Linked DNA regions of Homo sapiens: regions 1, 2, 3, 4, 6 and 7 are each linked to region 5. Evidence: promoter capture Hi-C in 16 types of primary human blood cells and fetal thymus (Javierre and others, 2016). All regions are on one chromosome and are shown on one strand. The core of a region is centred on a gene start or on the middle of the fragment in contact, and the rest is flanking DNA. Distances in the headings are between cores, read along the strand shown. Region 1 overlaps PIEZO1 (piezo type mechanosensitive ion channel component 1 (Er blood group)). Region 2 holds the start of RNF166 (ring finger protein 166). Region 3 overlaps PIEZO1 (piezo type mechanosensitive ion channel component 1 (Er blood group)). Region 4 overlaps GALNS (galactosamine (N-acetyl)-6-sulfatase). Region 5 holds the start of CDH15 (cadherin 15). Region 6 holds the start of LOC101927793 (a long non-coding RNA gene). Region 7 overlaps SNAI3-AS1 (SNAI3 antisense RNA 1).

Evidence for each region. The method cuts DNA at HindIII sites, captures the fragments that hold promoters and counts their contacts. A CHiCAGO score of 5 or more calls a contact.
Region 1: a fragment that was not itself captured here is called in contact with the fragment with the promoter of CDH15 in region 5 in 8 of 17 cell types (naive CD4 T cells, total B cells, total CD4 T cells and 5 more); the score reaches 8.2 in naive CD4 T cells.
Region 2: the fragment with the promoter of RNF166 here is called in contact with the fragment with the promoter of CDH15 in region 5 in 3 of 17 cell types (monocytes, neutrophils and erythroblasts); the score reaches 7.6 in monocytes.
Region 3: a contact is called between a fragment that was not itself captured here and the fragment with the promoter of CDH15 in region 5, in 16 of 17 cell types (M0 macrophages, M1 macrophages, monocytes and 13 more). The highest score is 13.8, in M0 macrophages.
Region 4: a contact is called between a fragment that was not itself captured here and the fragment with the promoter of CDH15 in region 5, in 3 of 17 cell types (fetal thymus, M0 macrophages and naive B cells). The highest score is 6.3, in fetal thymus.
Region 6: a contact is called between a fragment that was not itself captured here and the fragment with the promoter of CDH15 in region 5, in 1 of 17 cell types (M0 macrophages). The highest score is 5.5, in M0 macrophages.
Region 7: a contact is called between a fragment that was not itself captured here and the fragment with the promoter of CDH15 in region 5, in 2 of 17 cell types (neutrophils and monocytes). The highest score is 6.2, in neutrophils.

What each region holds. Positions count from the first base shown.
Region 1 is chr16:88,768,189-88,772,039 of GRCh38, forward strand. The region is part of intron 1 of PIEZO1 (piezo type mechanosensitive ion channel component 1 (Er blood group)); the gene reads right to left. Among named protein-coding and RNA genes, the nearest start is that of PIEZO1, 15 kb to the right of the region's middle. RefSeq lists enhancers at 1-30, 31-614, 615-1,198, 1,783-2,366, 2,367-2,950. The HindIII fragment of the contact is 5,586 bases long and covers 1-3,851 here.
Region 2 is chr16:88,705,123-88,708,878 of GRCh38, forward strand. RNF166 (ring finger protein 166) reads right to left here and starts at 1,286. Exons shown (of 6, transcript NM_178841.4): 1 at 1,049-1,286. The coding sequence starts at 1,203. It overlaps CTU2 (cytosolic thiouridylase subunit 2), which reads left to right and starts at 1,381. Exons shown (of 15, transcript NM_001012759.3): 1 at 1,381-1,476; 2 at 2,014-2,088. The coding sequence starts at 1,409. RefSeq lists an enhancer at 761-1,398 and silencers at 1,020-1,299, 1,340-1,649. The HindIII fragment of the contact is 28,082 bases long and covers 1-3,756 here.
Region 3 is chr16:88,750,864-88,754,617 of GRCh38, forward strand. The region is part of intron 1 of PIEZO1 (piezo type mechanosensitive ion channel component 1 (Er blood group)); the gene reads right to left. Among named protein-coding and RNA genes, the nearest start is that of PIEZO1-AS1, 10 kb to the left of the region's middle. The HindIII fragment of the contact is 1,378 bases long and covers 1,626-3,003 here.
Region 4 is chr16:88,851,532-88,855,619 of GRCh38, forward strand. The region is part of intron 1 of GALNS (galactosamine (N-acetyl)-6-sulfatase); the gene reads right to left. It overlaps LOC107983950 (a long non-coding RNA gene), which reads right to left. Exons shown (of 2, transcript XR_933884.3): 2 at 3,597-4,088. Among named protein-coding and RNA genes, the nearest start is that of GALNS, 3.4 kb to the right of the region's middle. RefSeq lists a silencer at 3,410-3,479. The HindIII fragment of the contact is 3,253 bases long and covers 1,213-4,088 here.
Region 5 is chr16:89,170,247-89,173,916 of GRCh38, forward strand. CDH15 (cadherin 15) reads left to right here and starts at 1,502. Exons shown (of 14, transcript NM_004933.3): 1 at 1,502-1,627. The coding sequence starts at 1,586. RefSeq lists a silencer at 938-1,577. The HindIII fragment of the contact is 9,317 bases long and covers 1-3,670 here.
Region 6 is chr16:88,882,384-88,886,118 of GRCh38, forward strand. CBFA2T3 (CBFA2/RUNX1 partner transcriptional co-repressor 3) reads right to left here. Exons shown (of 12, transcript NM_005187.6): 6 at 3,578-3,735; 7 at 2,663-2,886; 8 at 293-378. It overlaps LOC101927793 (a long non-coding RNA gene), which reads left to right and starts at 1,132. Exons shown (of 3, transcript NR_135194.1): 1 at 1,132-1,835; 2 at 2,238-2,461; 3 at 3,359-3,735. The HindIII fragment of the contact is 9,463 bases long and covers 1-3,735 here.
Region 7 is chr16:88,673,542-88,677,480 of GRCh38, forward strand. All of the region lies in intron 3 of SNAI3-AS1 (SNAI3 antisense RNA 1), which reads left to right. Among named protein-coding and RNA genes, the nearest start is that of SNAI3, 11 kb to the right of the region's middle. The HindIII fragment of the contact is 2,643 bases long and covers 315-2,957 here.

The sequences.
Region 1 (3,851 bases), core at 815-3,314, 400 kb before region 5:
GCTGGGCTCCTCTTGTGCGGCCTGGCACACTGCCTGGGCCTCGCAGCCCCTCCCCCCACATCCCAGCTTAGCTGCTGGACCTTATGGCAGGGTGTCCCCATAGCTGTTCCCACCACGGCAGGCCGGCTCCAAGAAGCTCCCCGGGCCAGGAGGAGAAGCTGATTAAGTGGCCACTTAAGAGCAGAGAGTGGATTGTTCCCTGTGGGGGGTGGGGAGGGGACTGGACGGCCCTGGCTAAAACCTATGCGCGTGCTCAGTTCCTGGAAAAAGGGGAGTGAGAAAGACGGACACACTGCCCTCTCACCCACCACATCCTGTTTTTATGGAAAACTAATCCAATTCCTAACAGCAGAGCGAGCAGCCGAACTCCCGGGGGTCCCGGGTGGCCCTGACAAGCAGGTTGTGGGCGGGGGCTCCCTAGTCCGTGGGGCAGGAGCTCGTCCACAGGGCAAGAGCGCTTCCCTCTCAGCCGCTCCTCCCTTCTCCCTGGGGAGAGGCCAGGATGGATGCGCCCTTCCTGGCAGTGAGGGGCTGGCTGACCGTCCCCACCCCTGCAGCCTCAGCCAGGCCCTGCTCCCTTCTAGGCCTCGGCCAGTCTGGGGTGGGGGCGGTGCCCACAATGGGCAGGCCAGCGACACCGCGAGCTGCAGGGCCCAGTCCGGGGCACAGCAGTATTGTGGCTGCAGACCATGGGATCTGGAGCCAGAATAGCCATGGCCGGGGCCGGATGCACCTTGGCAAAGCAAGCTGGGCCTCAGTTTCCTCATCTGTACAGTGAGGACACCAGCCCTATTCACTGCAAAGGCCACACACTGAAGTACGCTAGGACACAGCAGCACCCGCGCCCACACTTGCTATGCAGAGTGGGGGCCCCTCATCCAAAGGGGCCAGAAGTATTTCCAGTTTAGGATTTTCTGGATTTTGGAATATTTGCACACGCATAATGAGGTATCTTGGGGATGGGACTCAACACAAAATTCTACTCACATTTCAATATATACCTCGTACACATACCCTAAAGGCAGTCACATAATTTTGTGTAAATAATGACGGGGGTCTCACTATGTTACCCAGGCTGCTCTCAAACTCCTGGCCTCAAGTGATCCTCCCACCATGGCCTCCCAAAGTGCTGGGATTACAGGTGTGAGGCCACCACGCCCAGAGCATACTTTCAATAATTCTGGCTTCTGACTGTGACCTGGCGTATGAAGTCAGGCCTGGAATTTTCCGCTTGGATTTAGATTTCGGACTTGGGGACTGGGATGCCCAGGCTACACCATCCTCGCATTTTCCTTACCAATATGAAGACAGACCTGCGGAACGCCTCGGCAGCAATGGAGCTGTGGGACCGGTCCCGCCTCCTCTCCTACCACTGCACATGACCGGAGCCCCCACCTCACATCGGCCGGCTCCATTCCTGAGGGTCAGGGCCAAGCCTGGGGACCTGCAGCCTCCAGTCAGCACGCAGGGAGCAGAGCAGGGAGAGGACCCCGGGCCTGGCTGTCACTGCTTCCTCCTGAGGACCTGAGCCAGGTCTGGGGCTGAGGCTCAAACACAACATGTAGCTCTGGTGGGCGGAGCGTGGTGGGAAACAGGGAGGGGCCAGGGTGGGCGGGGCCAGGACGAGCCTCATGTCACCTCTGCTAGCTCAGAGCTGGCCCTGCTCCTGCGCAGGTTAGAGGGAACAGAGAGGCCGGCATGGGGCGGAGTGTGGTTAACAGATCCCCTAGGGGGTCACACCCCTTCCAATGCCACATGGCGGGGCAGCAGGGGGCTCTGAGGCCCTCCTAACCTACTCCAACCTGGAGGCTCGGGACCCCCACGCCTCTGCCCCTGAGAGAGGAAGTGAGGGACTGTTGACGCATGGCCCGTCCCCAGGGAAGAGGACTGATGCCTCCCAGGGTGTTCTCCCTGCCCACACGCCCCAGCCCCTCCCCACCCTCTCTCCAGGCAGAGAGTGCACAATCCGGTCTTCCCAAGCCTCGGTCTGTCGGGACAGAACCTGCCAAAGCCAGAGGAGGCCTGCAGGCAGCCCCACAGGACGCCTGGCAGGCGGCTCCCAGGACGTATCCCCGAGACCTCTCAGCCTGATGCCTGTGCACAGCCCGCTCCCCCATGACCCGGTCACACCTGCCCCCCAGCCGGGCCCCGCCTGCATCACTTTCTGGCTATGGACTTGGGAGCTGGCTCGACCTTTAGGAGTCTGCAGTTCCTGTCTGTGGGGTGGGGGGACGGGAGCGGCTGCCTGGCCAGGCTGTAGCGAGGATGGCACGGTGAAGAGTCCAGAGTCTGCCAGGACACTGAGCAGGGCGTTCTCCTCAGGGGCGGCTCCAGAACTGCAGTCCATCGGGAGAGGTGGCCGTTAGTGCGGGGGCCCCGCCATGGGCGGTGCCTGCCTGGGCCGCTCCCTTCCCCCTCAGCCTGAACACGGTCCTGGGTGGGGGTACTCTCCCGCCAGCTGCCGAGCACGTCCACCACCTGGTGCCTTCACTGCCAGTGACTCAGCCAGGCCGGCTGGCAGCCCAGCCGCACCAAGTCACCCTGAGCACGCCCCACGGTTCCCACGGAGCAGTCAGGTCCGGGCCAGGCGTCCTCCACTGGGCCCCGCGCGGCCCTGCCATAGGTGACACCAGCCACCACCAGAGTCGCTGGGCCTCATGTCCTCACCTGGGAGGCCAGTGAGGTGCCCTGGGGGCTTGGGCGAGGAGCTCTAACTATAGGAATCCGGTGGGCGGCACTGGAGAGACTCCCTGCCGTCACATGCCCTGAGCGCAGGGGATTAAGAGGCTCTGGGCCCTCTCATCTGCAGGCGGGGCCTGGGCGGAGCAGCTCCACCCTATCACGTCTTGCTCTGTGTTGCAAGGTCCTTCCGCCCCTGTCACTTAGCAGGTGGTCTCAGTCCCGGAGAGCCAGAGCCGTGAGGCAGAGCAGGGCAGGCGCTAATCTCACAGGGAGATAAAAATCAACCGTGCGAAAGGCCCCACAGAGCGACCGCTACTGGCACCGGGCCCAGCCTTGCAGGAACTCTGCACCCAGTGACCCCCCCTTGGGAGGTCCAGACCAGTTCCACTCTTAAGGACGAAGTGCTGGAGGCTCAGAGAGGCTGAGAGATTCACCCAACCACCGGCCCAATGGTGCTCAGCAGCAGAGCCAGGACTGGGAGCCTCATCTGACTACATACAGCTAGGAGTGCGGCGACAACAAGAAACCAGGCCAGGCGGGGCTCCCATCCCACCGCCTCCCTTGCCCTGCAGGCCCCAAGCCCAGCAGGCAGGGTAAGGAGCACACAGCTTTCTTGACTGGGGGCTCGGCTCCCCACGGCTCACGCAGCTGCTGGGCTCAGGGGCCACACACGCCCAAGCCTGAACCTCAGCAGGGCCACTCGACAAGTGCCCTATGACAGTGTCCAGCGGAGGTCCCAAGCTAGCCATGGGGGTCCCCCTCAGCCCACAGTCAGAGCAGGGCCATAGGGAGGTGCTGGGTGGGACAAGGTTGCAGAGGTGACACTAGTGGAGCCGACGTCCAGATGCCCGTCCACCCGCGGCCCCAGGCCCTCCTGAGACTCTATGCCCGTCCACCCGCGGCCCCAGGCCCTCCTGAGACTCTATGCCCGTCCACCCGCGGCCCCAGGCCCTCCTGAGACTCTATGCCCGTCCACCCGCGGCCCCAGGCCCTCCTGAGACTCTATGCCCGTCCACCCGCGGCCCCAGGCCCTCCTGAGACTCTATGCCCGTCCACCCGCGGCCCCAGGCCCACCTGAGACTCTATGCCCGTCCACCCGCGGCCCCAGGCCCTCCTGAGACTCTATGCCCATCCACCCGCGGCCCCAGGCCCTCCTGAGACTCTATGCC
Region 2 (3,756 bases), core at 36-2,535, 470 kb before region 5:
TGTGCTGCCTGACACAGGTAATGAAGGCAGCTCTGCATCCTGACACTGGCCCTGCCACCTCCGTGGGTGACCAGCACACATCCACCTAGCAGTCCCAGCTCCCTCTGTACCAGGAGCCCCTGAAGTCAGCTGACTTTGCTTGCAAAATGTTCTAGAGCCTCCTACCAGTCTGGGTGCACCCCCCTCCACTCCACCACCTCAGCAGCTTGGATGTCTGCGGGGAAGCCCTCCTGCTCTCTCTCTCCCCTGCCACTGCTGATTTTGCTCAAGAGCTGTATTATTCAGCACTTAGGAGGGAGCAGACACTGATCTAGGCTTCCTCCCAACGGGGCTGGCAGCTCCAGAATACTTGAGCACAGCTCCCCGCCAGGAGAGCCACGTCCTCCAGTTTCTGTTCCTGAAACACCCTGGAGGAGCCGGCTGTGAGCCCTGGTGCAGCTGGAAACCCCAGCAAGGTGGTCAGTGTCTGCTCCTCTGTGGACCAGCCTGCCTGGCTACTCAGTGATCGGTGTGACTCAAGTTCTCCTTCAAACAAAACTAAGAACATCAGACTCCAAACAAGCCCCTCTAAACTTTAGGGAACTCCTTTCCTCTGTAGTCAAAACAGGCAGACAGCGGGTCCGAACAAGAGTTGATAGCAAAAACTACAAGTTATTTATTTACAACTGCCCATTCCAGCCGCACAAGCCCAAATCCACCACCACTGGCGGAGCGGTGGCACCTGCTGCCCTCTGAGTACCGGAGCGCCCGCCGCAGCCGCCGGGGACCCCGAGCTTGGGCAGGGCCGCAGGTCGCCCGGTGAACCGAAGCAGCAGTCGGACCGGGCGCCTGCGGCTGGCGCGAAGGAGGCTGGGCGGGGGATGAACGCGCCCAGAGGGCAGAGGCGGCGCGGCACAGGGAAACCCGGACCCCACGCGCCCCGAGGCCCCGGCGCCCCGAGTCCCCGCGCGCCCAGTCCGGAGCTGCACCGGGGCGGCCGCCGGCCTCGCGACCCCTCCCGCGGCGGGGCACGGCCCCCTCCCCGCGGCCCCTGGGCGGGCGCGCTCACGTGTGGCCGCAGCTGCCGATGGCCACGGGCCGGTGATAGACCTCCAGGCAGATGGGGCAGGTGTACTGCGCCTCCAGGCCGCTGTCGCCGCCCGCCGGCCCGGCCGGCGGCTGCCGCTGCTGAGCCGAGGCCACCAGGCTGCGGAACATAGCCATCCCGGGGCCAGGCCCGCGCCGCCCGCCGCCCGCTGTCCTGGCCCGGGCCGGCCCGCTAGTCACAGCCGCTACTGCGCCGCGCTGACGTCATCGTAGGGCGCCGCCCCCAGCCGGGCTTCGCGGCCGTCACGGCGCCACTCCGACGTCATCGGGGCGCGCCCTCGCGCTGTCGCCGCCACAGTCTGCGACGGGACCCGGCGTGCCCATGTGTCAGGTGGGCGAGGACTACGGGGAGCCGGCGCCTGAGGAGCCGCCCCCGGCGCCGCGGCCCAGGTAAGAGCTGGCGGCCGGACCCGCCAGGCCGCCCCTCGCCTTCCCGCCGCACTCCTGCCCCGAAGGGTCCCGGCCGGGCTTGCTCCGGGAAGCCCCGCGTGGAGAGCGGGACCTCGCTCCCTAGCACTCGGGGAATGCCTGTCAAGCGGTGACGGCCACCTAGAAGGGGACTTACTCCACTGGCTCGCGCCTCTCATCCTAGCAGCCACTGGGGACGGCTCTGCCGCTGACAGTGCTGTCCTTATTCGGAGAGAACTGGTGCCGTGAAGCTGTCTCGCCTCCCCGTGTCAGCCTTGGGAGACTGAAAAGCGGCCTTTATGTGCCCCCTGAGCCGGCTTTTCTAGGCTAAACATCCCCCCAGAGCCTTTGTTTTTCTTGAAGTTTGGACAGAACACAAGCCTGGGTTTGTGTGTGTACCGAGGTGCCTTTCTCTGACCCAACTCAGGGTGAGAAACAGGAGCTGTCTCCCCAAAGCCCACTAGGCGTGGGGAAGATGTGATCTGTGTTTCTCTCTTCTCCCCCCTCCCATCTCCAAAGCCGTGAGCAGAAGTGTGTGAAGTGCAAGGAAGCGCAGCCCGTTGTGGTGATACGAGCCGGAGATGCCTTCTGCAGGTGAGGCCTGGAGGTGGCTGAGACCCTGGCAAACATGGCCTCGCTAGCAGACAGGATAGCCGCAACTTGTGATGCTTTGTTAATTCTTTTTAAAAACATGTACTTACTTTATTCCTGCTCCTGATGGGGTCCCTCGTGCCCCTGGTGTTGAAGTGGAGGCGAAAGCATTGGTTTCCTGCTTGGGAAAGTTTCCCATGAGCTAGCCACAGATCCCCTGATGAGGTTTCTGATGGAACTTATGGGGACAGTTGGAAGTGGGGCCGTGGTGTCTAGACTGGGATAAGCTGTAGGAGGACCAGGCGTTTGGGGGCAGCTGGAATACATCTAGGGGCGGATCAGAGCATCTTGGGAACTTGGCAGATGGTCTGGGTGAAAGTTTTTAATCTCGTGTGAGATGCTTGTTTCATCTGTGGCAGGATAGAGGCTTGGAAGACCTCTAGCTTTCCCCCAGGCGCTTGTCATGTCTTTCTTGGCTTGTAGCCATTGTATTGTTCAGTTGTTTCCACTAGACTCATAGCTCCCTGAAGGGAGGACCAGGTCTCTCTCCTTTTAGCCCTCTTAATTCCCAGTGGTGGTGCGTGGTTTTTTTGTTGTTGTTGTTGTTTTTTTTGAGATGGAGTCTCCCTCTGTCACCCAGGCTGGAGTGCAACAGCTGGAGTGCATGATCCCAGCTCACTGCAACCTTTACCTCCTGGGTTCAAGTGATTCTCCTGCCTCAGCCTCCTGAGTAGCTGGGATTACAGGTGCCTGCCATCATGCCCGGCCAATTGTTTTTGTATTTTTAGTAGAGACAGGGTTTCACCATGTTGGCCAGGCTGGTTTCGAACTCCTGACCTCAAGTGATCCACCTGCCTCGGCCTCCCAAAGTGCTGGGATTACAGGCATGAGCCACCACACCTGGCCAAGATAGGTACTTCTTTAACCACCCAGGAGCATCTGAAATTGCCAAGAACACCAGGCTGCCGGCAGAATTCACTGAGGAGAGGCTGCTGTGGCTGTATGCTAGGCCCTTGTGGCCAGAAGGGCTTTTGCTGTGCTTGCTGGTCCCAAGGAACAGTGGGGAGCCGGCTCTCTAGGGGAAGGCCTTAGGAATCTACATCGAGCTGGGATCCCCAGGGATCATTCAGGTCAGCACGTGGGAGAAACCTTGGCCTTCCCTGACCCACAGGGGACAGCGTGGTTTCAGGAGCCCAGACGCAGCATGTACACGTGGACCCACCACGCTTGAATCCCAGCTGGTGGTGTAGGGCGCAGAGGCTCTCCTGGTCCACAGTGCGGAGGTGAAGCCCAGCACCTGTGTCTCCTTGTATGAGACTCCCCACGCCCAAAGCTGGGTCCTGGGGGTCACTTCCCATGTCCCAGCCTTGATACTTGCCAGTTACCTGCAGTCCCTCACCTGGCATCTTGCTGTTAAACACAGACTTGCTTTACTGTCTGTAAAGGAACCACAGGGGGGTCATTCGGCCTCTTGTACGTGGTATCCATTCAACGTAGGGAGGGACTGCTGTGCACATCAAGTGTGTCTGACAGGAAGGAAGAGACTTAGAGCCCCAGGTGCAGGGTGACTCTTGCAGTGGCATTGTCCGCTCTGTACCGGGTGCTGCTCTTCACCCTGCCTGCCAGGATTGCAGGAGAGCTTTAAAATGCAGACTCCTAGGCCTCACCCCT
Region 3 (3,754 bases), core at 1,065-3,564, 420 kb before region 5:
CACCCTCCACCCACCCTCCAGCCTCAGGACCCCGGTCAGGAGGCTGAGGAAGGAGGCCACAGTGAGCTCAGACCCGTGTCCAAGCGAGACCCCTGGCTGCTGCTCCCACCATGACCCCAAAGCCCCAGCCAGGATGTAGCCAACGAGATCCCTCCATAGTCTGGCTCTGTGCCCAGGGGAGGCCATGCGTGCCACCATCTGCCCCATCCTTGGTGCCAAAGGAGCCCCGGGAAGTCTTCTGGAGGGAGGCCCAGCCCAGCCCAGCTCTCACCTTGACACCCACCTGCCCCTCAGTCCCCAAGACCCGAGCCTCACCCTAGACCAGGGGCACGGAAAACGCAGGGCAAGTTAGAGGAGGCGCAGGGCAGAGGGAGACCCCGACCTCCACGGACAGCACAGGAGGCCGGGCCTTTCACAGCCTGGTGGGGCCTCCAGACCCATCTCCCCATTGGCACCGTGGAGCTGACGCTTGCACCTGAAAGGGTCAGGGGCACACGGCAAACTCAAGAAGCACAGCCCCTCCCTTCCCACTCTCAACAGCTTCACCCTTCCACCCTCCCGGAAGCAGACACGAAAGAATCGCGCTCGGCGCTGCTACGGGCTCAAGGCGGCCTCGGCTTAGCGCACACATCGCGGAGTGCCGGGCTCCGGGGGGCACCGCCCGCCCTGCTGGACACAGCAGCCTCCCCCAGCTCCCCCAGGAGCCCTCCCTGAAGTTAAGATCCCCTCTTCCTCCCATTAACGCACCAAGCATAGCCATCGGCTCCATGCTTTTAAATCTAAAGTTTTTTGACGATTATACATTTTCATTAAAAAAAAAAAAAATCCCTAAGATCTGGCCCAAGAGGCAGGAGGAAAATGCATTCACAGCAAAGGCTTCTGAAGTTCTGAAGTTCTCCACAGCTGCACTTTTCAGCCGGGTGAGTTCTGCCCCAGTCCTGTCCCCAGAGAAGGTGGCACCTCCCCTCTGCACCTGTCCAGCCAGGTGGCAGCCGTCCATGCATCCGTCAGAGCAGAGGAGCTCACGGTCTGACCTGCCAGGAACGTCCAATGCTCAACAAGTGCACCAGGGTTGGGTTCGAAGCCCGTGGCAGGGCACCTTAGTGTGGTGTGGACACCAGGCAGGGCTCCTGGAGTCAGAAGCGTAGGTCCTGGGGATGAAGGTCACCAGACCCTGAGGCTGTGGGGAGGCCAGGGAGGTGGTGCCGTGCGTGCAGTTTCCTTTGGGAAAACGAAGAAGTTCTAGAGATGGGTGTCAGTGATGGCTGCACAACAATGCGAACATGCTTACCGCTGCTGACCTGTGCCCTTCAATGCGGCTAACGTGACAAACTTTAGGCCGGGTGTGGTGGCTGAGGCCTGTAATCCCAGCACTTTGGGAGGCCAAGGCAGGCGGATCACTTGAGCCCAGGAGTTCGAGACCAGACCAGGCAACACAGAGACCCCATCTCTACAAAAAAATTCAAAAATTAGCCGGGGATGATGGTGCATGCCTGTGGTCCCAGCTACTCAGGAGGCTGGAGCAGGAGGATCACTTGAGCCCAGGAGGCTGAGGCCGCAGTGAGCCATGATCACGCTGCCGCACTCCAGCCTGGGCGACAGGGTGAGATCATCTCAGGAAACAAAGCTTTATGGATGTATATTTTGCCAGAATAAAAAAATAACCAGCCCTGAAATCTGCAAAGGATTCTCAGAAGCCCGAGCCTGAGGCTGCAAGGGGCTGGGGCTGGAGATGAGGCGGGTGCAGGGGCTGAGGATGGAGATGAGGGAGGGGCTGGAGCTGGAGGCCTCCCTGACCGCCCTGCCCCTGGCCGAGCCAGAGGGGAACCTTGAGGGGCAGAGTGGACTCAAAGGCAGAGGACGATGGGGGCATGGGAGGCACCTTGGCAGGGGTTCCCCGGCAGGCCAACGTCACCCGGCAGGGCAAGTCCCCTGCCTGAGACCATGACCCACCACGGGCCTGCCCTGGGGTGATCAGCAACACGCCCCCCAGAGTTTGTTCACTCATTCATTCATCCATTCATCCATTCATCCATTCATTCATTCATTCAATACCAAGCAGGCCCCACCAGGCAGCGGGCTTGGTCTAGGGTCCGGGGACATGGTGGACAGTTGGACAGACAGCTAAGGCTTGTCCCAGGTGGCGGCCACTCACCAACAACACAGACAAGGAAAAGGCTCAGAGAGGAAGAGGGCTACTTAGCCCAAAGCCCACCCACCGCCCCCAGAGCACACCCACCGCCCCCCAGAGCACACTCACCCCCGGAGCACCCCTGCCCCCCCAGAGCACAACCGCCCCCCCAGAGCACACCTATCCATCCCCAGAGCACACCCCGCCCCCCAGAGCACACCTGTCCATCCCCAGAGCACACCAGCCCCCCCAGAGCGCACCCAGCCCCCCAGAGCTCACCCGCCCCCCCAGAGCGTACCCGGCCCCCCGCAGCACACCTCCCGCCCCCGGAGCACACCTGCCACCCCCAGAGCACACCCACTCACCCAAGGACGGGCTGAGACAGGAGGGCCCTGGCTGGTCCCTGGCGCCATCTTCTGTCAGCCTTGCCACAGACACCAAGCAGGGGCAGCCTCACGGGTGGGATGAGAAGGGGGCTCAGGGTCACAGCCCAGCCCACCACTTCTCCCATCATCTGGTCTTGGGGTCCTCGGAGTAGCCGGCTAGCAGGGCAGGAGTGAGGAGCACTCCTCCAATGCTCCAATGCCCCCATTTTCAGATGGGATGGGCTCTGAGAGGGGAGGAGCTCCCAAGAGTGGTCAGGACCCAGGTCCGGGCATCCCGGCCGCAGGGCCACGGCTTTTCGAAACACTCCTTGGATCTACCTGTGCTGTCTATGCAGCCGGCAGTGCTCTTGGTCTAAGTGTGTTGATGTGGCCTCAGCTGTGACTTTGTGGGCTAAAGCCAGAGGGGGAGACTTCAGAGCAGGCTGCCTGGAGGAGACGGCATTGCTTTTGGCCCTGAAGACTGGCTCCAACTCAGGGCAGGTCGGAAGCTTCGCAGATCAGGCTCAGGCAGAGAAGGAAGAAATTCAGCCAAAGGGGAGGCGGGGCCTGAGACAATCCAAGGAGCGGGGACAGGAGCCTGCCCTGCCCTGTGGCTCCCATGTTCCCATCAGGAGCTGCCCAGGCTGGGCCTGTGACCCCGTGGGGGTAATGCCTTTTCCTGAGTCAGCTGCAATGGGATGGGGTCAGAGAGAGCTGTGGTTCCCAACCCCCAACCCCCTCGCCTCACCAGCACACGCCTGACTATGGCCCACATCCAGCTCCTTGGGAAGCAGAGAGCCCAGCCATCACCCATCCACAGACCTTCATCCTACAGCTGAGAGGAGCACAGTCAGGAGGGGAGAGGCTGCCCCCACGGTAGCTGCTGGGCCCCTGGGTGTCCAAGGGCTGGGCTGGCCTCTGCTTTCAGTGGGTGCTGGCCAGGAAAGCCACAAATGCCACATGGTGGTAACCAGGACCACACACCACTCAACCGGAACATTCCACAAAGAGGGCTGGACACCACCCACTCCCACTGGCACATAGGAAGACCTGCCAGGGGATGTCAGATGCCTGAGCCCCCCTGCCAGGATCCAGTTCCTGGGATGAGACCCTTGCAGCTGACCCACGCCCGGGTGGGAGAGGAGAAACTGCCCAACCCTCGTTCCCTGTGGTGATCGAGGAGGAGCTGTCTGGCCTCCTCTAACACGGGCTGAACCAAGCCTGACGAGGCCTGAAGGACTGTCACAGGGAGGGCTGC
Region 4 (4,088 bases), core at 1,589-4,088, 320 kb before region 5:
GGGTGAGCCGAAGCAGGGTGGGGCATCGCCTCACTCAGGAAGTGCGAGGGGTTGGGGGATTTCCCTTTCCTAGCCAAGGGAAGCCGTGACAGACTGCACCTGGAAAATCAGGACACTCCCGCCCAAATAGTGCGCTTTTCCAACGGTCTTAGCTAACGACACACCAGGAGATTATATCCCGGGCCTGGCTCGGAGGGTCTCATGCCCACGGAGCCTTGCTCACTGCTAGCACAGCAGTCTGAGATCCACCTGCGAGGTGGCAGCCTGCCTGGGGAGGGGCGTCCGCCATTGCTGAGGCTTGAGTAGGTAAACAAAGCGGCAGGGAAGCTCGAACCGGGCAGAGCCCACCGCAGCTCTGCAAAGCCTGCTGCCTCTGTAGACCCCACCTCTAGGAGCAGGGAATAGCTGAACAAAAGGCAGCAGAAACTTCGGCAGACTTAAACGTCCCCGTCTGACAGCTCTGAAGAGAGCAGTGGTTCTCCCGGCACAGTGTTTGAGCTCTGAGAACGGACACATTGCCTCCTCAAGTGGGTCCCTGACCCCCGTGTAGCCTAACTGGGAGATACTTCCCAGTAGGGGCCCACTGACACCTCATACAGGCAGGTGCCCCTCTGGGACAAAGCTTCCAGAAGAAGGATCAGGCAGCAATATTTACTATTCTGCAATAGTTGCTGTTCTGCAGCCTCCACTGGTGATACCCAGGCAAACAGGGTCTGGAGTGGACCTTCAGCAAACTCCAACAGACCTGCAGCTGAGGGACCTGACTCTTATAAGGAAAATTAACAAACAGAAAGGAATAGCATCAACATCAACAAAAAGGACATCTACGCCAAAACCCCATCTTTAGGCCACCAGCATCAAAGACCAAAGGCAGATAAAACCACAAAGATGGGGAGAAACCAGAGCAGAAAAGCTGAAAATTCTAAAAACCAGAGCACCTCTTCTCCTCCAAAGGATCGCAGCTCCTCGCCAGCAAGGGAACAAAGCTGGACAGAGAATGACTCTGACGAGCTGACAGAAGTAGGCTTCAGAAAGTCGGTAATAACCAACTTCTCCGAACTAGAGGAAGATGTTTGAATCCATGGTAAGGAAGCTAAAAACCTTGAAAAAAGATGAGACGAATGGCTAACTAGAATCAACAGTGTAGAGAAGACCTTAGATGACCTGATGGAGCTGAAAACCATGGCACCAGAACTACGTGACGCATGCACAAGCTTCAGTAGCCGATTCGATCTAGTGGAAGAAAGGGTATCAGTGATTGAAGATCAAATTAATTAGCCGAGTGTGGTGATGGGCGGCTATAATCCCAGCTACTCAGGAGGCTGAGGCAGGAAAATTGCTTGAGCCCAGTAGTTTGAGGCTGCAGTGAGCTGTGATCGAGCTACTGCACTCCAGCCTGGGTGACAGAGCCAGACCTTGTCTCAAAAAAAAAGTCCTGGCTGGGTGTGGTGGCTCATGCCTGTAATCCCAGCACTTTGGGAGGCTGAGGCAGGCAGATCACCTGAGGTCAGGAGTTTCAGGCCAGACTGGCCAATATGGTGAAACCCCGTCTCCACTAGAAATACAAAAATTAGCTGGGCACGGTGGTGGGAGCCTGTAGTCCCAGCTACTCGGGAGGCTGAGGCAGGAGAATTGCTTGAACCTGGGAGACGGAGGTTGCAGTGAGCTGAGATCACACCACTGCAATCCAGCCTGGGTGACCAGAGTGAGACTCCATCTCAAAAAAAAAAAAAAAAAAAAAAAAGGCCTAAAAGCCCCCAAATGATTGTCCACGTTCAGCGAGCACAGCTGTGAGCCATGGATCAGTATCCTTCAGAATTTCAGAGTTTTAAGAAACGCAGTTTCCATTCCTACTGGTTGCTATGGGATTATTATGAAGACGAGCAGGCCAGTGCTTGTCTGTTTCAAACGAGGGGCACTGAGCAACCCTCCCCGGACTCTGGTGGCTCGACGAGGCTGCTGTGGCAACAGGAGCTGGCCTGGGTGGCCCTGACTCTCCACTTCCTCTGTGGTCAGGGCTGACCCTCCTTAACCCTATTTTCCAAATAAGGAGTGGAGACACAGAGTGCTGCTCGCCCTGGGAGGCAGGAGCTGTGTGTGGGCCAGAGTGGAACTTGTCACTGGGTCTCACCTGTCTCCAAGGCCCCAGAAGCCCTGGAGAGCAGAGTGGGCCACGCAGGTTTCCTCACTCACGCAGCAGGTGCCCAGGGTACTACGAAGCCAGGCCGCGCTGGACCGTGGGTCAGTGAAAGGCCAGGGCAGGGCAGCCCTGGGGAGTGCAGGTAGACCCGTCCTTGCCCGGCTCAGCTCCCCCTGGACAGGTGGGGGCTCTTGCCAGCTGCTCTCACCCCTGAGTCCCAGCTTCCCCTTCTGGTCCCGACTCTGGGGGCAATGGTTCTCTCCCGGGTCAGTGTGACCAGTTGGAGAGTGGCTTCTGGCCATGAGGGGTGCAATAAGCTAGTTTTGGGGACAACCCTTTTCTGAAACTGCACTTGCTTAGACGAAAGGGGGGCCCAGGCCCCCCACTGCCCAGCCACAGAGGACTGGATAGGGGGAGACTGGGCTGGAGGCAGCCGGTCCCTGGAGGGCCATGCTCCAAAATCTGAACTTGAGACATGCACACTCGTCCTCAAGTGGTGCTGGGCCCAGAGCTGTGGGTCATCAAGCCATCCCATGTCATGCCAGAGGCCGAATGACCTGTTGCAGGTTCAGACGCCAGCGCCCTGGCAGAAACAACCGGTCTGCAGTGCAGGAAGAGGTGTGGACAGGGCTGCGGAGGAAGCCCCGGACTCCAAGGAGAGAAGACAGCCTGTGAGGACCCCCTTGCACCCTGGGCCACGTCAGGGCACCTCGGGGCTCCACTGTGAGCTTCTGTGGCTCTCACCTGCCAGCATCCCTGCCCTGTCCTGGCAGCTGCACCATGGGCCCTTCAGGGAACCCCCTCTCTGCTGGGTCCAGGCAGATGAGATGATCAGGGGCAGTCTCCCTTCTGGGGTAGGCCCGAGGCTCCGAGGCCTGGGCTGGACAGGTCAGCATGTGCCCCTCCCCCAGTGTGCTTGGCGCAGGGCTGAGACCCACATCACGCTAACATGACACGGGCAGAGCCAACCTCCCACTGGGTCTGCTGACTGCAGGGGTGACTTGGAGTCACCTAGGACCATCACAGGCTGAGTGAGGATGTGGCCAGTTCAGAGGCAGCAGAGCCACGAAAGGGGAAACTCGCCAGGCGGCCCTGGTCTGTCGACTCAGGAGGGCCAGGGAATCCCCACTGTTGCTTGTCACTTTGACTTCATCTTCTGCTGTCTGCATCAGAAAGTCCTTACAAGTACACCTACCGGCCAGGACACAGCTCCTCTGGGGTTCTTTAGGCGTCAGCTGCCAAACGACCCCACAAGCCACACAGTGGAGGCCACAGAACAGGTGCCCAGGTGGGCGGGGCTTCCTGTCACCCTCCCCCACATGTGCCCCGGTGGCCACACCCCACCCCTCCACCCTGCACGGCCTGAACCCTTGCTGTCCTATGGAAACGTAGGGTGAGTCCACATGCAATTCCCTATTTACCGGGAGCCACATTAGAAAAGCAGAAGTAGGTGAAATACAGACTAACTTTATATTTTATTTAACCCAACATAACCAAAATATTATTTCGACAAGTCTTCAACATAAAAAATTATTCATGAGCTGCCCCGCCTCACCCCTCTGTCCTCTGAGAAAGTCAGGAAAAGCAGAAACTTAACAGGGAGGCTTCACCTGCAGAGCCCAGCTCATCCAGCGAAGCTATGCTGGCCCAGAAGGAGTTACACAATGAAAAGAAGAAATTCTGAAACAAAGTATCTACACTGGCCCAGAGGAACTTCAAAAGTGAAAGGATGAAATTCTGAAGCAAAGTATCTTTAGGAGGGAGATGCCACTCAGTGCAGAGAAAGGCCCGGCTACTGCTGTCAGGACACGGACCCCTGGGCGCTGGAGAGCGTGCTCTGGAAAGCAGTCACTGCACACAAATAAGACATATGAGATGGAAAAGCAGCTGCCCAGGACTGTCGGCTGTCACCCCTGGGTGGGGAAATTATGGGTGGTGTCTGTTATCT
Region 5 (3,670 bases), core at 252-2,751:
TGAAAACCAAAAGCACTCAGAGGGCTTCTCCACCCCTATTTTGAGGTCACTGACCACAGAGGCAGGATGGTGGTCCCCAACAGGCTACACCCCAGCCCCAGAGGCCTCCCAGTCTGGAGATGGACTCCCTGCCCTCTCTCATCTTGGAGCAGTGAGCGCTAGGGACAGTCCTGGCCTGAGCCTCCCGGGCAGCCTGGCCTCCTTTCAAGCAGGCCAAGTGCACAGATGCTGCCTGCACCTGCACAGCCACCCGCCGTCGACAGGAGAGCAGAGGTACCGGGTCTGCTCCCATCACAGAGAGGAACGGGCTCCCCGGCCCGGCCCTGGGCTGGTCGGCAACCCCCACTCCCCACCCTGCCTGCTCAAAAGAAAGGATCCTCCTGCCTCCAGCCCCCTCCACCCCCTCTCCAGGACCTTCCTGACCGTGCGCTGGGCCTGTGCAGGTGTTGAGCCACACCCACACCATCCCAGGGGGCGGGGTCTCGAAGGGGAGAACAGGTGCCACAGTCAACAGGAGGGAGGGCTTCTGGCCGAGGTGGCAAGGAGGCTCCAGGAGGCGGCAGCGTTGACCTTGGGTGTTGAGGGATGATGAGAAGGAGTTCTGTAGGAAGGAAGGTGCTCCAGGCAGGGGGCCTCGGGGAACAAGGGGATGCTGGAGGAGGTGCGTGGACTGGGGGAATTGGGGGTGTCCTACGAGCCACGCTGGTATCAGAGGCGTGTGAACCAGAGCAGTTCCATACTGAATAAGAGCTGGGCAAAATGAGGTCGCGAGGAGGTGCGTGGAAGGCGGGCCTAGCGTTCAGTGGGATGCGGGGAGGCGCAGGAGACGCAGCCAGAGAGGCGAGGGGCCCAAGGAAGTGCTCAAGAGGTGTCCCCCGGCAGGGACTACAATGCAGATTCCCTGGAGCAGGGGCGAGCCGGGCCCAAGGAGCAGGAAATGAAGAAGCCAGGAATCCCAGCTGGTCCCTGACCCGGACGCACCCACCCTGCCTTCCCCACAGCCTGGCCTCTGGCTCTGCTCCCAACGCAGCAAGCCGGGGTATCTCCGACCTAGCCCTGGCCCTGCCCGCCGGAACCCCGCAAAAGCTATCACTCAGCCCTCGGCCCCGCCCCGGCCCCACCCCGGCCCCACCCCGCACTCTCACAAGGTGTCACTCAGCCCTCGGCCCCGCCCCGCCCGCCCCATCCTCCTCTGGCTCCGCCCCACCAGCCTCGTGCGGTCACCGCCCCGCCGGCGCACCTGCGCTGTCACTCAGCCCTCGGCCCCGGCCCCGCCCCGCCTGCCCCACTCGCACACGGGCTATCACTCAGCCTGCGCCCCGCCCTAGCTCGCCAGAGGCTCCGCCCCACCCGCCTGCCAACACGCTGTCACTCAGCCTTAGCCCTGCCCAGGCCGGCCCTCGGCCCGTCAGAGGCCTCCTTCGTGCTGTCACTCAGCCCTTGCCCCGCCCCCTCCCCGCCCCCCTCACACGTGCTGTCTCTGTCTCTGGCCCTGGCCCGCCCCGCGCACTTGCGCTGTCACTCAGCCTGGACGCGCTTCTTCGGGTCGCGGGTGCACTCCGGCCCGGCTCCCGCCTCGGCCCCGATGGACGCCGCGTTCCTCCTCGTCCTCGGGCTGTTGGCCCAGGTAAGGCATCGGCACCTGCGGGGGTCCCCGCTGCCTCCCTCGACGCTGCGGGACAGTGTCTTCAACTGCAGCCGCACAGGTCTCCCCCAGAACCACTGGCCCTGGTCGCCTTTGGGGGCCTGTGAGCGGAGTGGCTCCGGGTGGGTCCCTGGGCTGGGGGCAGCACCCCAGGGGTTGTGGGGAGTGAGTGTAACCAAACACTCCATCTGGTGGAATCACCCCCAGGACTGCAGAGTGCTGCTGGGGTCAGGGACCCCAGGCAGGGGCCACCCAGGTAGCCGTGCCCTCTCTTTGGAGGAACCGCTGCCGGGGTCTGGGGGTTGCCAGTCTTGAGTGGAGCAGAGAGAGGGGGGAGCGGCAGGAGTGCCCCTCTCTGGGGGGCTGGGGGCCAGGTTTCTATAGGGACTCCCTGCGGTGGGCACAGGACCCCTGGCTAGTCTTGGGTTTTGTCCAAACCCCCCACCCCAAGTTCCTGGCCAGCAGGGGTGGCTGCAGGCCCTGCCCCCAGGAACTCACCCTCACGGCTACTTCTCGATTGGGAGGGCCCAGCCCGAGCCAGGTCGCAACACACGGCCTTGCAGAGTGGCGTGTGGCAGCCCTGGGGGCTCTGTTCCTGGGCTTCACCTGGGACCCTGCCGCAGCTGCCTGGGGTGATCAGGCCTGGGGGCCCAGCCCCCAGAGGCTGCTGGACTCTGCCCCTAAAAATCTTGTCTGGACTGCTGGCACCGTGGTCTCTCCAACGTGGGAGCAAGCCAGAGTGGAAGGAAGCCCAGGCCTCAGCCCCCCACACCCGACATGGGTACTGCCTAGCTGGAGCCACGTCTCCTCACACCCTAGGGGGACCTAGACATGGAGGATGTGGCCTCAGTGGCTTCAGCCCCCAGGGACTGGGCTGGGCTGGGGCATGGCCGGCTGTGGTTGGGACGTCACTGGGTACAAGAGGGCAGCCTCTCTCTGGCCAATTCGAGAGAGAATGCACATAAAGGGCTTAGCGGTGCTCACAGTATTCATTGCTCTTGTGGTCCTGGGGTGGTCAGGGAGTGCTGGACACAGTGAGTAAGGGAAGCCACTCCTTTCCCAGCCCCCACTGAAGGGGCTTCCTGAGTCCCCTCATTCCCACAGGCCTCCCAGCTCCAGCTGGCTCCAATTTCAGCCCCTGGCAGCTGACCAGGCGCCTGGCCAGCCAGACCCTCCAGCAGCTGCCCCTGAGGGCACCACGGCTCCTGCCACCCCCGACTCCCCCATCTGGAGACAGTGGTGGGGGGAGACAGTGGCTCAGCATGCGTGCTCACCCCCCGGCCCTCCACCCCTCAGCCCTCTGCCGGGGAGCGCAGGCTGGGGGGCTCCATGCCTCCAGGGCCCTTCCCCACCTGCTCTGGGGACAGGGTTTCTTCCCTGGCACCCCAACCCAGGGCATGGTGGTGGGGAGGCTGGCGCCTGTGAAAACATTCCTCCAGACCTCTTCCTTTGGATTTGGGAGTGTCTGCCTTTCAAAAGGCCCCAGGGGGCTCTGTGGCAGGTGGGGAGGCAGGCAGGACCTCTCCCTCCTCAGAAGCCTTCCCTCTCACTGTCCCTTCTTTTCTCGCCCAGGGCTGGGGGACAATAACCCCCTCCCCCGACAGCTGGAGGCTGGGGGAGGTGGTGGAGGTGGGGGCCAGATGGCAAGGGGACTATCGCCAAGGCTCAAATTCACTCCACTGTGAGGCAAAATATGTCAGTGTCAGGACCCTGCCTGCCCCTCCCCCAGCAGCTCAGCTTTCAGGACTGTGAGCTCTCCTGGGCAGCCTTGGGGTCCTGGGCCGCCTCCTGGTGAGCCCCCAGGCAGGCAGCGTGGGCCCATCAGGGCCTTCTACAAGTGAGGGGTTGCTCCCCTGCTCGGGCCACCTCTGATTGCTGAGCTCACTCAGCCCCACCCGGAGGGTGTCTTCAGAACTGGCCCCTCTCAGCCCTGCTGCACCTACACCATCCCTAGTTGCTGGTTCTACACCTGGGACCCCACCCCAGCTGGGAGGCGGCTGAGGTCTGGGGCAGCACACTTGACTC
Region 6 (3,735 bases), core at 856-3,355, 290 kb before region 5:
TGGGTATGGCTGTGTGTGTGGGTGTGGCTGTGTGTGTATGGCTGTGTGTGGGTGTGGCTGTGTGCGTGGGCGTGGCTGTGTGCGTGGGGGTGGCTGTGTGTGACTGCACGGGCGTGGCTGTGGCTGTGTGGGCGTGGCTTGTGTGGGCATGGCTGTGTGCATGGGTGTGGCTGTGTGTGGGCATGGCTGTGGGCGTGGCTGTGTGTGCATGGCTGTGTGTGCGTGGCTGTGTGTGTGCGTGGCTGTGCGCCTGGGCATGGCTGTGTGGGCGTGGCTGTGTGTGGACACTCACGTTGTTGAGGTGCTTCCACTCTTCTGCCCACTCACGCTCTGTGAGCTTGTGGTCGATCACTTCTTCCTGCCGGGACCCAGGCACCACTGTGGATGGGGGAGGTGCACGCTTAGGTCCCACCCACAGCCAGTCTCTGCCCTATTCTCCCAGACCCCGCCCTCTGCTCCCAGGCCCCACCCGTGGGCTGTGCCCGCTGGGGACGATGGACAGGGTAACCGAAGGGCTGGTTGACTTGGTGACCGTGGAGGATGCCTGGGTTACTGAGCCGCCTGGGGCTCTGGGCCGACTGCTCTTCCCCTGCAACACGGCACACGCCTCCAAGGGAGGGTTCAGTCTCAGTCCCATTCTGCAGCTGAGGAAACTGAGGCTGGTTAAGAGGATGTGTTTGCCTGTGGTCACCAGGCAGGGAGCGGTGGGGGTGGGGTGTGGACCGAGGCTGGCTGGAGCTGGAGCAGTGTCCTCAGCCACTGGCCGGGAAGGCTTTGTTAGACTAAGCGTGGCCTGAGGATGCCTCAGTGCCAAGTCACACCATGACCTGGACCTGCCTTAGTCCGTGAATCAATGGGTAACCTCACTGGGAGGAGCTGGTCTCAGTCATTCGCGGCAGCCCTCTGCGGTCACCCGCAGGCGCCCATGACTCCGATGAAGCCACGCCAAACACCACCCAACCACGTGGCCTCGGCACCCGCCTCCTGTCTCTGCCTGTGAACACCGCCAGCCAAGCCGAGGCCAGGGCTCTCGGAACACGCTGGCTCTGAGGCCCATCCTATTCGGGGTTGTTCTCTGCTCAGTTAAACTCTGTTCAATACAGCGTGTCTAAGGTTTTTCCCTTTTGACAGGCTCCAGGACTGAAGCCGCAGAGGCCACTCCCACAGGTCACCAGAAACTAAGACGTGAGTGACGCCCGGCAGTGGCCGACTCTTCCGCCGTGGCTGTGCCCATGGGAGACGTGAGTGACGCCCGGCAGTGGCCGACTCTTCTGCGGTGGCTGCGCCCACGGGAGACGTGAGTGACCCCGGCAGTGGCCGACTTCCACGGTGGCTGCGCCCACGGGAGACGTGAGTGATGCCCGGCAGTGGCCAACTCTTCTGCGGTGGCTGTGCCCACGGGAGACGTGAGTGACGCCCGGCAGTGGCTTACTCTTTCGTGGTAGCTGCGCCCACGACTTCTGGAGACATCAGAGGCTTCCAGGCCCCACTGTTTTCTGCATTTGGCCACTGCCCACGCTTCTGGGGCTGAGGTCTCCCTCTTGGGGCCCTTTTCAGCCCCTAAAGATCTCCTAGCCTCCGAACCTGAAATGGCTCCCCCAAATTGCAGAGGAGGTGGGGAAGTGGCAGCCACAGCTCAGTCACCAGCCTGCTCTGCCGCCTGTGAAGCTGCAGCTGGCAGCAACACCCCAACCAAAATAGTGGCTGAGACGTGCCCGACAGCTGGCGTTTATTTCTGTATTAGCAGAATCGGGTGGGAGTCAGCACCTGCCTGACCCGGCTGCAGCATGCCAGACGCCGTCACCTGCTGCCTGGGCCCTGGAACCCTCCGCAAGGTGGGGGCTGGGAGATGGCCTTGTGTAGGGCAAGGCCTCTGCTGACCCTGCTGCTGGGCCCCCACCGGGCCCTGGGCCTCTGTCTCAGCATGGCAGACTGGAGGCCTCCCTGCAGCCTGTCCTGGGGGGGCTCCTGGGGTGGGGCTGGGCCTGACCATCTCTGGGTTCTCAGCACAGAGGCCGTCAAAACGTCAGGCAGGCTGGGCTGTGAGACTGTGGGTGCATTATGTGTGCTCTCAGGCCTCAGTCTCCTCATCTGTGGTATGGGGGTGCTGACGCCACCCCACTGACGGGCTCAGAAACGAGTGAAGGATAAAATGCACCGAGACTCCGTGCCCACCTCTCTGTTATCCACACCAGCCTGGCCTCACGCAGAGACTCTGTGCCCCTCTCCTGCTCTAGATACCAGCCAGGCCTCACGGCAGCCCTTGCTGGGCCCTGCATTAACTCCCCCAGGCCTTGGACTCTGAGAGTTGGGACTCTCGTCTGGCCCAGGTGACAGAGGAGGAAACTGAGAAGCAGAGAGCCACGTGACTCACCTGTGGGTGGACTGTGGGAATCGCCAAGCTCGGATGAGAACCACGTGGGCAGTTCCAGGCCCGAGGCCGCCCACCCCGGGGGGAGAGGTGGGTTCAGGGCCCAGGACAGGCCCCTCTGCAGCCACCGCTCTGCTCCAGGGGGAATGCCAGGCAGGGGGAAGGGGTCTCCCGAGCTCAGGTGCACACAGCTGCCCGTGGTGCCCTGTGCCCACATGCTCAGGTGTACATGTGGGCGCATGTGTGCTCCTGTAACACGCGTCCACGCTCCCGCCCCACCGGGCTGCTCACCAAGCGGCCGATGGCGCTCTCGTAGCTCCCGGGGGTCTGGGTGGCGGTAGGCATCTCGGAAGTGGTGGGCCATGGCTATGTCCTCCAGGCGGTAGTGCGGCGGCGGTGTGGGCTGCGGTGGCCCGTTGCTGGGGCTGTAGCGCTGGGCAGGGTTCAGGGTGCATGGCCGTTTGCTGAGGTGCTCGGGGTGCAGCGGGTCGCGGTCTGACCCGTTCTCTTTGGTCCTAGCCCCAAGAGCAGGTGGGGCGAGGGCAGTGGACATAGGATGAACCGGGGACAGAGGTGCAGGTGGGGTGAGAGGCAGACAGGCAAGGGCAGAGAGAAAGAGGACACGTAAGGGCGAGACAGAAACACGGAGCAAAACACCAGCCCCGGGAAGCCCAGCCCGGCGCCCCCACTCTCTGCCCCTCTGCCGGGGCCCATGCCAGCCTCAACCCCTGCTCCAGCTGCATGGCATCCTGGGGCCTGGTGGTCAAAGAGCCGGACTCGCTGCTCTGGGAACGAGGAGAGGGATACACCAGGCTTCCGTAACTGGAGACCACCTGCCCCTTGGGCAGCAGCAGCACAAGAGCGTCTGGGGCAGCAGAGGGGGCCCAGCCCAGGCACCTGGGGACCATGGACCCCGGACGCTCGGAGTCCATGCCCGGCACACAGGGGAGAGCCGTCCTCCCACCAGCCTCCTCCCTGTCCTCCTAGGCTCCCCGGAGCATCTGAGTCTGCAGCCCACTGGGGTGTCCGCCCGTGCAGCCACCAAGCCTGCTGGCCCTAGTACACCTCGCCACGCTCCCTCAGCCCGAGAGAGCCGGCCGGGCTGGCTGCAGCCCCAGAGGAGGTTCCCTCTCTTACCCAGAGGGGAGCAGGGTGAGCCGCGTGTCCACGGCACCCCCAGCCCAGATCCCCGGAGCCCACAGGTACCTGTCGGGCGTCCTCCTCTTGCCGTTCTCGTTGACTTCCAGTAGCAGCTCTGAGGAGTCGATGGGGGAGGAGGCGCTGGCGTCCAGCAGGAGCTGCTCATGCTGGGCCAAGTACTGGGCGGGCGTCTGCTTGGCCAGGCGTGCACAGTGCAGGAGCTC
Region 7 (3,939 bases), core at 386-2,885, 500 kb before region 5:
ATGGCTTACTTGGAGTTCTCTTTAATTCTGACATAGAAGTTCGCACAATCCCTCTTTTACAGATGAAGAAACCAAGGCTTTGTGACTAACTCAACCCCTCAAGAAGGACAAAACTAGCATCAGAGCCCCTTGCTCCTGGGTCTGGCAAGAATGCCTCTTGTTTGCTGAGAGGTCCACAGATTTACCCGGCTCAAGACTGGGAGATGGGAGGTGACCAGGTCAGTGCCAGCCTCTCTCTGAGCTCCTCTGAGTCGTGGCAGCTGAGGTGCTCCTCCGAGAATGTTCTGCCATCCGTGAGGTCGTGTACGCCTGGAAGCTTTTGTTCCATTGAACTCTGCCAGGGAGCTATACTTAGCCACGCGAGTGGAGGCCAGGAGTGGGTTCTCTGAATATAGATAGTAGCAAGCAGGCTATTTTCAAACACCTAGAGAACCCCCATGATTATTCTGGGCCAAAATGATATTTATAGGATGCTCTGGGCCCTTGGACATGAAGGCAATAACCTTAGCGCCTTTTGGCGTTCGGGATAAGTTTCTATCAACGGGGAGTGGAGAGAGGGACCCGGTCACCCAGAGGCCCGCTGTCCCTCAACACCTGTTTCCAGGAGGCCAGGCGTCTTCTTTGCTTTTACACTATGAGTCAGAGAACAGCGAGAGGCACGCAGGGCCCTACTAATTTTCCTTCCTGCACACCCTGGTGTGGGTCCTGTCTGAGGCCTGCCGTGTGCTATTAGGGAAGACGTCATCAGGGGACTTTTTCTGCTGTGAGGAGGGTGCAGCCCCTGCCTTTCAGAGCTCAGGACACCCTCTTCCTCTTGTCCAGGATCCTCAGGGATTTCCTAGGCTTCCACCCTCACCCAGACATCACTGGACCGTCACTGAAACACCCGCTTCCAGTGTGCTCAGGTCCTGCAGCCTCCTGTCCATCCTTGCCCCGCCTCCCGCCCGGAGGAAAGACTCTGACACTGCCCCTGGAAGAGGGAGGAGAGTGGATGTGATGAGTGAAGATTTGGGTGGGGAAAGGAAGGCCTGAGTCCTGGGAGGAAGAGCTCTCCCCGCCCCGAGCCCCCGGAGACTGTGAGCAAGGCTGAGACGCCTCCTTCCTGGTGCTCAAGCTGCAGGTGTTGGATAGGCCTCCAGAAGCCCAGATTTTAAATGACCGCTCCAGGTTAACCTGGGGATGGTCAGGCAGAACAAGGAGGAGAGGCCAGCAGTGAAGGGCAGGGCTGGTGGGCAGTGGCTGGGGGTGTCCTGGGTGGGGCTGGCCACCCTCGCTGCCTCTGACTTGGGCCAGACCTGCGTTAAGTGGAGTGGCTCCTCCATTCTTTACACCCCAGGCCCCTGGCAGGTGCCCTGCCTTTCCTCTGCCCCTCTCTCTGCCAACCCATCCTCTCCCTCCCAGCCCCTGCCCGCCCAGATATAAATATAAGAGCATTTTCCATGGGCTGAGACAGAAGGGAAAACATTCAGCTTTATTTTCGGCTTGTGAAATTCCTGTCCTTCATTCCCAACAGGTGCAATCGCCTCATTTAGATATTGGGACCCAGAAATAGAAGACAATTTACAATATAGCTTCCTTTAGGGATCTGGATGCTACCAAACAAACAAACAAACAAAAAAAGCCCTCCTGTGAGATGCCGAGACTTAATAGAAACCGTGGTTGGAGCTCTTGCCTTTTTCCAGGCCGGTGGAGACCCTCACCCCTGGCAGCCTGACCGTGAAGCAGAGGAGGCAAGAGCTCCGGGAGACAGTCGGGAGGGAGGGGGCCCTGGAGGACAGGCTCCTAGCCCTACTCCTCCTCAAGACCCGGGTGCTGGCCTGTCCCCTGCCTTTGCCCCGATGGGGATGAGGGAGAGGAGATGGGTCAGGGAACAGCTATGGCCATTGGGGAAGGTGACTTGGATGCAACCTTTGAAAGAGATGCTTCCAGTAAACCCCATCGGTTAAGATCAGCTGTCCCCCATGATCCTTTGTGTGTGTTTTTTTGTTTTCACACAGGGTCTCGGTCTGTCGCCCAGGCTGAGTGCAGTGGTGTGATCTTGGCTCACTGCAACCTCCACCTCCTGGGCACAAGCAATCCTCCTGCCTCAGCCTCCTGGATAGCTCAGACTACAGGGGTGTGCCACCATACCCAGCTCATTCTTTTGTATTTTTAGTAGAGACAGAGTTTTGCCATGTTGCCCAGGCTGGTCTCAAACTCCTGGGCTCAAGTGATCCACCCGCCTTGGCCTCCCACAGGGCTGGGATTACAGGAGTGAACTCCCATGCCTGGCCCTCATGATCCTTTGTAGACTGAGGGACAAAAGAAGAGGGTGAGGCCTCCCCTCTCCTCAGCGCTGAGTGCAAGGACCCTCAAGGCAACTCTTGGCAAAGCCCCATGTTTCCACTGGCTGTTTAGGTGGAATTGCGTCCCCCCGCTTCCGTATGTTGAAGTCCTAATTTTCGGGCCCTCCGCTTGTGACCATATTTGGAAGTAGAGGCTTTGCAGATGTCATGAGTTAAGATGGGGGCCTCCTGGAGCAGGGCAACATGACTGTATCCTCATAAGAAGAGGAGAGACAGAAACAGACACACACAGGGAGATGCCACGGGACTCCCAAAGCCACAAGAAAGCCTGGAACAGCCCCGCCCTCACAGCCTCTGAAGGAACCAGCCCTGCCTTCACCTGGATCTGGGACTTCCAGCCTCCAGGACTGGGGGAGAATGAAACTCTGTTGTTTCGGCCACTCAGGCTGGGGTGCTTTGTTATGGCAGCTGAGTGGGTGCCTCCCTCTCTGGGGACGGCCAATCCCTGTAGGGGAGGCAGTGGTCCCGGTCCAGGAAGGTGAGAGAGGCTTTCTCAGTGTCTTCACTTCGCCAGCTCACGTGGAGACTGGTAGCGGCTGGAGCCCAAGCTCTTCTGGGGAGCCGGTTTACTCAAGGTCACCCTTGATCCAGCGGAGCCCAAGGTCTAGGTCAAGCTTCCTCTGGGATGTCCCCAAGGCTCTTCAAACAGGTGTCGTCAAGCCATCTGCCCAAGGGCCCGTCAGCACCTGGCAGGTGTTAGCCAGGCTGATCTGCAGGCGGGGCTGCCCCGAGTGGGGCTCCCACTGCCCGGGTTGGGACTGGAGCAGCCAAGTGGCTGAGCAACAAGGTGCTTCATGTGTGGTCCCTGTGAGCCCCCCTGAATAGTCTCATGGACAGACGGATGGACGGGAGGCTCAGTGGGCTCTGGGAGCAAGGGGAGCGCTTGCCGCTCTCCACGTGGCTCCATTCCAGGACCAGGACAATGATGTCTTCCTGTCTGCAGCCAGAAGCAGGGCAGCTGACAGCGGCCCAGCCCTCCTGAGGGACAGGTGTCCGCTCCCAGAAACCTCCCTTCCACCATCCCCATCAGCGAAGGTGTCAGGGACTAGGAGGGGCCTCCTTGCTCCTTCCTGGACGCTGCCCCTGGGGTTGAGCTGGAGAGGCTGAGACATGCTGGGAAGAGGAGGACCAGCCCAGTGGGCGGCCGCCCAACAGCTCGGCGGTGAGAAGAGGCCACGTGTAAGAAGGAAACGCCACCACCCCACTGGATGGTGGGAGCAGGACTCCAGGGAGGGGGGTCTTGAGTGTAGGCAACCATGTCGATTTGGCACAGTGTCTCAACAGGGCAGGGCAAGGGTCTGGGATTCCAGTTCACGGATGCCCCAGGTACCATGGGTGGACAGAGGCCCAGACCCTCTGCAAGACAGCAGTGATCATGTCAGACCCTCGCAGCGCTTGAGGGCTGCAGCAGGAGCCCTGAGTCCTCTGTTCTGACCAGGCAGCAGGGAGGACTCGCTGCCCCCAGCTGCACAACGCCTGCCCCGGCCTTGGTCTTGGCCCTCTACCCGGCACCAGCTGGAGCCTCTTGGCCATTCCTCTGTGCCATGGGACACTCTCCCACTCCTGCGCTGGCTTCTGCCCACAGTGGCGCCCC